Linked DNA regions of Homo sapiens: all the other regions are linked to region 1. The links are contacts of gene promoters, found by promoter capture Hi-C in blood cells and fetal thymus (Javierre and others, 2016). All regions are on one chromosome and are shown on one strand. The core of a region is centred on a gene start or on the middle of the fragment in contact, and the rest is flanking DNA. Distances in the headings are between cores, read along the strand shown.

Region 1 (3,091 bases), core at 209-2,708:
GACTCTCCTGCCTCAGCCTTCAGAGTAGCTGGGATTACAGGCACGCACCACCAAGCCTGGCTAATTTTTGTATTTTTAGTAGAGACAGGCTTTTGCCATGTTGGCCAGGCTGGTCTCGAACTCCTGAACTTAAGTGATCCACCAGCCTCAGCCTCCCAAAGTGCTGGGATTACAGGAATGAGCCACTACGCCCATCTCACGGCTAATTTTTAAATTTTATTTTATTTTTATTTTTTTGAGACGGAGTTTCGCTCTCGTTACCCAGGCTGGAGTGCAGTGGCGCGATCTTGATTCACTGCAACCTCCGCCTCCCAAGTTTAAGTGATTCTTCAGCCTCATGAGTAGCTGGGATTACAGGTGGCTGCCACCACACCCAGCTAATGTTTTTTGTATTTTTAGTAGAGACGGGGTTTCGCCATGCTGGGCAGGCTGATCTCGAACTCCTGACCTCAGGTGATCCGCCTACCTCAGCCTCCCAAAGTGCTGGGATTACAGGCGTGAGCCACTGTGCATGGCCACAAAAACTTGTAATTATTTATTTTTTGTAGAGACGGTCTCACTATGTTGCCCACCTTGGTTTGGAACTCCTGGCTTCAAGCAATCCTTCTGCCTCAGCCTCCCAAAGTGTTGTGATTACAAGCATGAGCCACCACACCTGGCCCCTCCATTTCATTTATTATTTTTCCATAACACTTGTAGTCTTCTAAAGCAGTATATCATGAAGTAAATTTATTATATGTATTACACCTGACATCTCTCACTGGGATGTAAGTTCCATGAGGGCTTGTTTTGTTACACGAGTTATGTCCAGTACTTAGAACAATATTATAGTGTCCAGTGAGCCGAGATCGTGCCATTGCACTGCAGCCTGGGTGACATAAGGAGACTCTGTCTCAAAAAAAAAAAAAAAAAAAGAACAATATTATTGTGTCATAAAAAGCATTCAGGCTGGGCTCAATGGCTCACACTTGTAATCCCAGCACTTTGGGAGGCTGAGGTGGGAGGATCACTTGAAGCCAGGAGTTCAAGACCAGCCTGGGCAACACAGCAAAACCCCATCTCTACAAAAAAGAATTTAAGGCCTGGCAGAGTGGCTCACACCTATAATCCCAGCACTTTGGGAGGCTGGTGGACGGGTCACGAGGTCAGTAGTTCAAGACCAGCCTGGCCAACATGGTAAAACCCTGTCTCTACTAAAAACAGAAAAATTAGCCAGGTGTGGTGGCATGTGCCTGTAGTTCCAGCTACTTGGGAGGCTGAGGCAGGAAAATTGCTTGAACCTTGGAGGTGGAGGTTGCAGTGAGCCGAGATCATACCATTGCACTACAGCCTGGGTGACAGAGAGAGCAAGACTCTGTGTCAAAAAAAAAAAAAAAAAAAAAAGGTAAAAAAATTAGCCAGGCATGGTGGTAAGTGCCTGTAGTCCCAGCTACTCCAGGAGGCTGAGGGGGGAGGATCTCTTGAGCCTAGGAGGTGGAGGCTGCAGTGATCTGTGATTGTACCTTTGCACTCCAGCCTGGGTGACAGAGCATGACGCTGTCTCTAAAAGAATAATAATAATAAGCATTCCATAAAAATTATGGAATGGAGAAATCATGAATGGGGTCTCGGAGGGGACCAGAGGCTGCAGTGACAGGCAACCTGGGGTCCTGACACGTGATCGCTCTTGTTCCAGGAAGATGAACTCTTCCGGATGCCTGTCTGAGGAGGTGGGGTCCCTCCGCCCACTGACTGTGGTTATCCTGTCTGCGTCCATTGTCGTCGGAGTGCTGGGCAATGGGCTGGTGCTGTGGATGACTGTCTTCCGTATGGCACGCACGGTCTCCACCGTCTGCTTCTTCCACCTGGCCCTTGCCGATTTCATGCTCTCACTGTCTCTGCCCATTGCCATGTACTATATTGTCTCCAGGCAGTGGCTCCTCGGAGAGTGGGCCTGCAAACTCTACATCACCTTTGTGTTCCTCAGCTACTTTGCCAGTAACTGCCTCCTTGTCTTCATCTCTGTGGACCGTTGCATCTCTGTCCTCTACCCCGTCTGGGCCCTGAACCACCGCACTGTGCAGCGGGCGAGCTGGCTGGCCTTTGGGGTGTGGCTCCTGGCCGCCGCCTTGTGCTCTGCGCACCTGAAATTCCGGACAACCAGAAAATGGAATGGCTGTACGCACTGCTACTTGGCGTTCAACTCTGACAATGAGACTGCCCAGATTTGGATTGAAGGGGTCGTGGAGGGACACATTATAGGGACCATTGGCCACTTCCTGCTGGGCTTCCTGGGGCCCTTAGCAATCATAGGCACCTGCGCCCACCTCATCCGGGCCAAGCTCTTGCGGGAGGGCTGGGTCCATGCCAACCGGCCCAAGAGGCTGCTGCTGGTGCTGGTGAGCGCTTTCTTTATCTTCTGGTCCCCGTTTAACGTGGTGCTGTTGGTCCATCTGTGGCGACGGGTGATGCTCAAGGAAATCTACCACCCCCGGATGCTGCTCATCCTCCAGGCTAGCTTTGCCTTGGGCTGTGTCAACAGCAGCCTCAACCCCTTCCTCTACGTCTTCGTTGGCAGAGATTTCCAAGAAAAGTTTTTCCAGTCTTTGACTTCTGCCCTGGCGAGGGCGTTTGGAGAGGAGGAGTTTCTGTCATCCTGTCCCCGTGGCAACGCCCCCCGGGAATGATGGAAGACTTCAGCTGGAAGCTGGAAGCCGTCCTTCTTAGTTTGCTTGTGGCCTCTTACCTTGACTGGCTTCTAAAACCCTGCCAAATCCTGCCTCTTCTTTCAGGAAGTCTTCCAGCAACCCCTCATCTAAAGCTCTGTGGTAGAGACAGCTACTTACTCCCCAGTGTCCATTCTTCCCCGCCCCCCCCCCCTTTTTTTTTTGAGATAGAGTCTTGCTCTGTCACCAGGCTGGACTGCAGTGGCGCGATCTCGGCTCACTGCAACCTCTGACTTTCTGGTTCAAGCAATTCTGCCTCAGCCTCCCGAGTAGCTGGGATTACAGGCACGTGCCACCACGCCCAGATAATTTTTGTATATTTTTTAGTAGAGACGGGGTTTAACCACGTTGGCCAGGATGGTCTCAATCTCCTGACCTTGTGATCC
Region 2 (3,091 bases), core at 238-2,737, 620 kb before region 1:
GGCGTGAACCTGGGAGGCGGAGCTTGCAGTGAGACCAGATAGCGTCACTGCAAGTCCGGCCTGGGCAAAAGAGCAAGACTCCGTCTCAAAAAAAAAAAAAAAAAAAAAAAAAATTAGCTGGGCATGGTGGCGCACACCTGTAATCCCAGCTACTTAGGAGGCTGAGGCAGGAGAATCGCTTGAAACCGGGAGGCAGCAGTGAGCTGAGATCATGGCACTGCACTCCAACCTGGGTGGCAGAGCAGGACTCTGTCTCAAAAAAAAAAAAAAAAAAGAAAAGAAAAAGAAAGAAAATGTATTCGAATCTAGTATTCAGGTGCACAGAGGGTGAAGAATTGTAGTTCAGATAGAGAAGAAAACCTGTACCTTCCACATTGACCACTGCTCTTCCTCTATTTAACCATCCTCGAGGGTTGCACTGAGTCATGTCCTTTCGGATGCATTTCCTTCCCAGAGGATAAGTGGTTGTCACTTCAAACCCTTACAATATGCTGTCCATCCTTTTTGAAGGTCCAAGTCACTTCTACCTTGAATTAGGATAATGGGTGTCTACAGATGAGTGGGATCTGGTCCCAGCCTTTGAGGAGCACCCAGTCAGGTAGAGAAACAGAGTTGGACACCAACTAGGGGGAGGGTCCCCAGGAAATGGACAGAGACATTGATGGATTTGTCACCAATTTTATTAAATTTATTTTCCTTTCTCCTTACCCCCAAACCACCGTCCTACTGCAGCAGGAGTTTTCGGTTTTGTCTGTATGTACAAGCCCTGGTCAGAGAGAAAAAGCCTGTAGATTAGAATGAGAATTTCAAGCTTTTCCAGATCAAGAGACCCATAACTTCCCTCCCCATAACTTTCCTACAATCTTTGGCCTGATTTGGCTCATCCAGTGACGTCATGGGCATCTGGGCAGATTTTCAGGGTTCTCTGCCAACCGGAGTTGGTGAGGAGAGAGGAGAGAAGAGCTGGGACCAGGGGTGATGGTCAAATGTGGGAACAGAAAGAGTCCAAAAAGACAAGAGGAGACACAGGCAGAAATGGAGAGAGATAAGGTAGAGACAGGGTATAGTGGAAGCAGGTATAGTGGGTTACAGCGTGTCCCCCACCCCAAAGATATATCCAAGTCCCAACTCCTAGGACCTGGGAATGTGACCTTAATTGGAAACACGGTCTTTGCAGATGTAATTAAGTTAAGGTGACATGAGATTTAGGATGGGCCCTACATCTAAAGACAGGTGTCCTTAGAAGAGAAAGGAGAGGGAGATTTGAGATGGACACACAGAAAACAAAACCATGTGAAGACAGAGGAAGGGATTAGAAGGGAGCTAAGGAATGCCAGCAGCCACCAGCAGCTAGGACACAGGCATGGGGTGGATTCACTCTCAGAGGCTCTGGAAGGAACCAACTTTGCCAACCTCTTGATTTCAGACTTCTGCTTTCAGAACCCAGAGAATACATTTCTTTTGCTTTAAGTCACCCAATTTGTGGTGATGTTACAGCAGCAATAGGAAATGAATACACAGGGAGACAGAGAAATGAGGAGAGAGAGTTGGAAGAGAGGCTGAGCAAGTTCACAGTGAGAGGTAGCCTGCACGGAGCACTCCCCATGCGCTAAGTGTTATTAACAGCGTTCACTGGCCAGGCGCGGTGACTCATGACTGTAATCCCAGCACTTTGGGAGGATGAGGCAGGTGGATCACCTGAAGTCAGGAGTTTGAGACCAGCCTGGCCAACATGGCGAAACCCCGTCTCTAATGAAAATATAACAATTAGCCAGGCTTGGTGGTGGGCACCTGTAGTCCCAGCTACTCAGGAGGCTGAGGCAGAAGAATCGCTTGAACCTGAGAGGCAGCGGTTGCAGTGAGCCAAGGTCGCAAGATCGCGCCATTGCACTCCAGCTTGGGCCACAGAGCGAGACTCCATCTCAAGAAAAAAAAAAAAAAGAGCGTTCACTGATTCAGTTATCACCACCCCCGCCAGTGGGAGGTGATGGCATTACTCCCTTTTTGCATATGAAGAAACTGAGGCGTTAGGGAAAGGAGATTAATTGGGTACTTGGAGGAGGCAGAGAGAGAGAGAGAGAAATTGAGACGGAGAGGGGAAGAGAGGGGCCGGAGAAGGGGCTGGGGGGGAGGGGGAGGGCACAAGCATAAAGAGGCAGCGAGATAAGCTTAGAGGGGGAGAGGAAGGTGAGGGCCACTTCCTCCCTAGGCACAGGGCCTGGGGTCCATGGAAATGTTTTCACTGTAGTATCTTTAAAAGCCAGAAGAAGATAAATGAATATAACAACAGTAATTATGATGATGCATAGAACATAATGAAGCCAACTTGGATGATATTTGTCTTTCTACCAATGCATCCACCAAATATAACTTTTAGCGTTTTTTTTTTTTTTTTTTTTTTTTTTTTTTTTTAATGTAAGAAGAGGCCCACAAAGGCAAAAGTGCTGAGGACCCGGGAAAGTTGTAATGTGGCCCAGAGGTGGAGAAAAAGGAAAATGAGGAAGAAAGACAGAAATAAGATGAGAGAAAGGTACGGGGCAGGGGGCGGGAGGGAGAAGAGGGAGGAGAGAGACAGAGAGAAAAAGAGAGACAGAGACTAAAGTGACTGAAGAGGAGACTCCCAAAGTACACAGTGACCCATCCAGGGGAGTCGCCATTTTTGAGGGGCCCAGTGGGTTCCACGGGGGACTGAGGAGGGGGCAAGGATGACTCACGAGACCACGATGACCACGAAGACAAAGACAGCCAGAGACACAGAAATGAGGATGCCCAACAGCGCCTGGTTCCTCGGGTATTTGCTGTCCATCTGGTACTGCAGGGCCACGCGGGGTTGCCGGTCGACTGGGGCGGGTGGGGAAACAGCCCCGACCTCCACGTCACCACCCCTCCTTAGCCCCATACCCACCCCACCTGTTCATTCAGCAGCCTGGGGCAGGGGTGGGGGTGGGGCGCTCTCTCTTCTTCTCTTCCTGCTTGTTCCCTGCCCTCTCCTGGGGTCTGAGTCTCCATTTATCCATTCCTCTAGTGCTCTGTCTCAGGCGCCATTGTAGGCATTTGGGATATAGCCGGGAACCAAACTGGCAAACTGGAC
Region 3 (3,091 bases), core at 300-2,799, 520 kb before region 1:
TTCCCCTGGAGACAGCAAGAGCTTTCTGTCCTGATTATGAAATCCGATGGGCTCATTTCTGAAAGCTGCACAGCACAGAAAATAGGAGGACAGGATGTATTACCCCACTATGCTGCTGGTAACAGCATTACCTGAGGCACCTGGGGGCTCTGTACATAGGCACCCAGCAGGTGTGCCGTGCACACACATTTACTCATTTGTTTTACAAAACTGGAGTCAGACCCTGCAAACTGTTTTGAAACCTGCTTTTTTTTCCCCTGAATGCTTTCGGGATAACTTTTCAGGTTATTCACAAGAAACTCTACTGGGATCCCTTCCCTCCCTCCCTCCCTCCCTCCCTCCCTCCTTCCCTCCCTCCTTCCTTCCTTCTTTTAGATAGAACTGTACTGGGATTCCCTCGCTCCCTCCCTCCCTTCCTCCTGCCCTCCCTCCTTCCTTCTTTTAGATAGAACTCTACTGGGATTCCCCCCCTCCCTCCCTCCCTCCCTTCCTTTCTTCCTTCCTTCCTTCCTTCCCTCCTTCCTTCCTTCCTTCCATCTTTCCTCTTTTAAATGAAGTCTCGCCCAGACTGGAGTGCAGTGGCACCATCTCAGCTCACTGCAACCTCTACCTCCTGGGTTCAAGCGATTCTCCCTGCCTCAGCCTCCCAAGTATCTGGGATTACAGGCACGCACCACCATGTCGGGCTAATTTTTGTATTTTTAGTACAGACGGGGTTTCACCATGTTGGCCAGGTTGGTCTCAAACTCCTGACCTCAGGTGATCCGCCCACCTTGGCCTCCCGAAGGGCCTCCCTGGGATTACGGGCGTGAGCCACCGTGCCCCGCCTCCAGTGTAGCTTTTAGTGACTGCAGAACATTCTTTCAAATGGGCCAGGCACCTGTAATCCCAGCTACTCAGGAGCTGAGGCAGGAGAATCACTTGAACCAGGGAGGCGGAGGTTGTAGTGAGCTGAGATTGCATCACTGCACTCCAGTCTGGGTGATAAGAGCCAAACTCTGTCTCAAACAAAACAAAACAAAACAAACAAAAAAACCATCAGAACATTCTTTCAAATGAATGAAGCCCGACCCATCTAACCAATTCCCGCTTCTTGGGCACTGAGGTTGTTTCCTAGCTTTCTCCGATTATAAACAACACTGCGCTGAACATCCTTGTGGCACGGTCTTTGCTCACATGCAGGGTTATTTTGCCAGTGCTGGTTCCTGGAAAAAAAATAGTTGGGCAGAGAATGTACACACTTTTGGGACTCGTAATGCCTCTCCTGGGAAAGGCGGGGCCCGTCTTCTGCTCCCCCAACAGTGTGGGAAACGGTACCCTCTCCCTTGCTGGGCAGCAAGCACCTCTTCCCAGTGCTGATGGAATCTTGGTGCCTCTCGCCCTCAGCTGCACAGAAGCTCTGCCGCCTCTTGGGACTGGGGGTGACGGATTTCTCCCGAGCCTTGCTCACCCCTCGCATCAAAGTTGGCCGAGACTATGTGCAGAAAGCCCAGACTAAGGAACAGGTAGGCGGGGCTGGCGGTGGGCAGGCACAGAAAGAGCCGCGCACCCCGGCCCTGGGTCTTTAAACAGTGTATGCTGTTTTTCCCACCACTCAACAGACTTTTGCTGAGTGCCCGCTCCGTTACCGATCCTGGTCTAGGTGCCAGGCGTAAAAGCAGTCATCGAAACAAATAACCAGGCCCTCAGGGACCTCAAGTTATAGTAAGGAAATGGATAATAAAAGTTCAACAGGATGTGTCTGGGAGTGGTGGCTCACACCTGTAATCCCAGCACTTTGGGAGGCCAAGGTGGGAGGATTGCTTGAGCCCGGGAGTTTGAGGCTGCAGCGAGCTGTAATTGCGCCACTGCACTCCAGCCTGGGTGACAGACTGAGACTCTGTCTCTAAAAAAATTAAAAAATTTAATAATAATTTAAAAAAACAGGATGTAAATGCAACATGGTATCCTAGAAAAACAAAAAACAAAAACCCAGGATGCTTTTAGATGGTGAGAGCACCTGTGAAGGGGAGGTTTTGTTGGTCAGGAAAGTCCTCTCTAAGGAAGCTCTAAGGATGAAACATTCGAGATGAGACCTAGATGGTTCGAGGCAGACGGAACCGCAAGTGTAAAGGCCCTGGGGGTGGAGCAGGCTTGGGGAGTTGGGAACATTAAGCAGGTCAGTGAGGCCGGGTGTGGGGGCTCATGCCTGTAATCCCAGCTCTTTGGGAGGCTGAGGCGGACAGATTGAGCTCAGGAGTTCAAGATCAGCCTGGGCAACATGGTGAATCTCCGTCTCTACTAAAATACAAAAATTAGCTGGGTATGTGGCACACGCCTGTAGTCCCAGCTACTTGGGAGGCTGAGACACGAGGATCACTTGAACCTAGGAGGCAGAGGTTGCAGTGAGCTGAGAGCACGCCACTGCACTTCAGCCTGGGTGACAGAGCGAGACTCTGTCTCAAAAAAAAAAAAAAAAAGAAAAGAAAAAAAGAAAATTGAAGGAGGTCAGGTCAGTGAGGCTGAAGAGCAAGGGAGAGAGGGTGGGTGAATCCACAGTCAGAAATGTCAGCAAGGGGCAGATCATGCAGGGTCTTAGGGGCCACAGTAAGGAGGTGAGTTTTATTCAAACTACATAGGAGGCCATTGAGGTTTTAAGCCAGGGAGTGACTTGATTCAGTTTGTCTTTCATAGAAAGATCCCCTTGGCTGCTGCATGGAGAATTGGGTTCAGGGATGCAGGTAGAGGCGGGGAGACCTAAGGAGGCTGCATCCAGAGTCTTGGCAATCGTGGGAGCTCACACCATGAGCAGGGAGGGTGGAGTGGAGCGACCACAGGCCAGGGAGGGTTTCAGAATCCAGCTTTTGGGCAGAGGCCTCTGCTGGCCCCAGGCTGGGCAGTGAGGTACCTGGATGAAGACCCCGTGGGGGAGATGAGGAGTCTGGGAGCCACACTGACCCGGGTTCAATCTCAGCTGGGGTACTGTTGTTAGTTCCCATTTTACAGAGGAGAAAACTGAGGCACAGAGAGGTTTATTCACATGCCTGAAATCACACAGCCCCTAAGTGGCAGAGCTGGGATTCAAACCCAAGTTGTCCGGCTCCAGAGTCCA

Evidence for each region. The method cuts DNA at HindIII sites, captures the fragments that hold promoters and counts their contacts. A CHiCAGO score of 5 or more calls a contact.
Region 2: a fragment that was not itself captured here is called in contact with the fragment with the promoter of GPR32 in region 1 in 1 of 17 cell types (total B cells); the score reaches 5.1 in total B cells.
Region 3: a contact is called between a fragment that was not itself captured here and the fragment with the promoter of GPR32 in region 1, in 8 of 17 cell types (total B cells, naive B cells, activated CD4 T cells and 5 more). The highest score is 12.2, in total B cells.

Annotation. Positions count from the first base shown.
Region 1 is chr19:50,769,006-50,772,096 of GRCh38, forward strand. GPR32 (G protein-coupled receptor 32) reads left to right here and starts at 1,459. Exons shown (of 1, transcript NM_001506.2): 1 at 1,459-2,727. The coding sequence starts at 1,596. The coding sequence ends at 2,666. The HindIII fragment of the contact is 17,473 bases long and covers 1-3,091 here.
Region 2 is chr19:50,151,886-50,154,976 of GRCh38, forward strand. It overlaps IZUMO2 (IZUMO family member 2), which reads right to left. Exons shown (of 7, transcript NM_152358.3): 6 at 2,715-2,841; 7 at 663-766. The coding sequence ends at 724. Among named protein-coding and RNA genes, the nearest start is that of IZUMO2, 9.8 kb to the right of the region's middle. The HindIII fragment of the contact is 1,357 bases long and covers 810-2,166 here.
Region 3 is chr19:50,245,618-50,248,708 of GRCh38, forward strand. MYH14 (myosin heavy chain 14) reads left to right here. Exons shown (of 43, transcript NM_001145809.2): 12 at 1,387-1,505. Among named protein-coding and RNA genes, the nearest start is that of MYH14, 44 kb to the left of the region's middle. The HindIII fragment of the contact is 6,027 bases long and covers 1-3,091 here.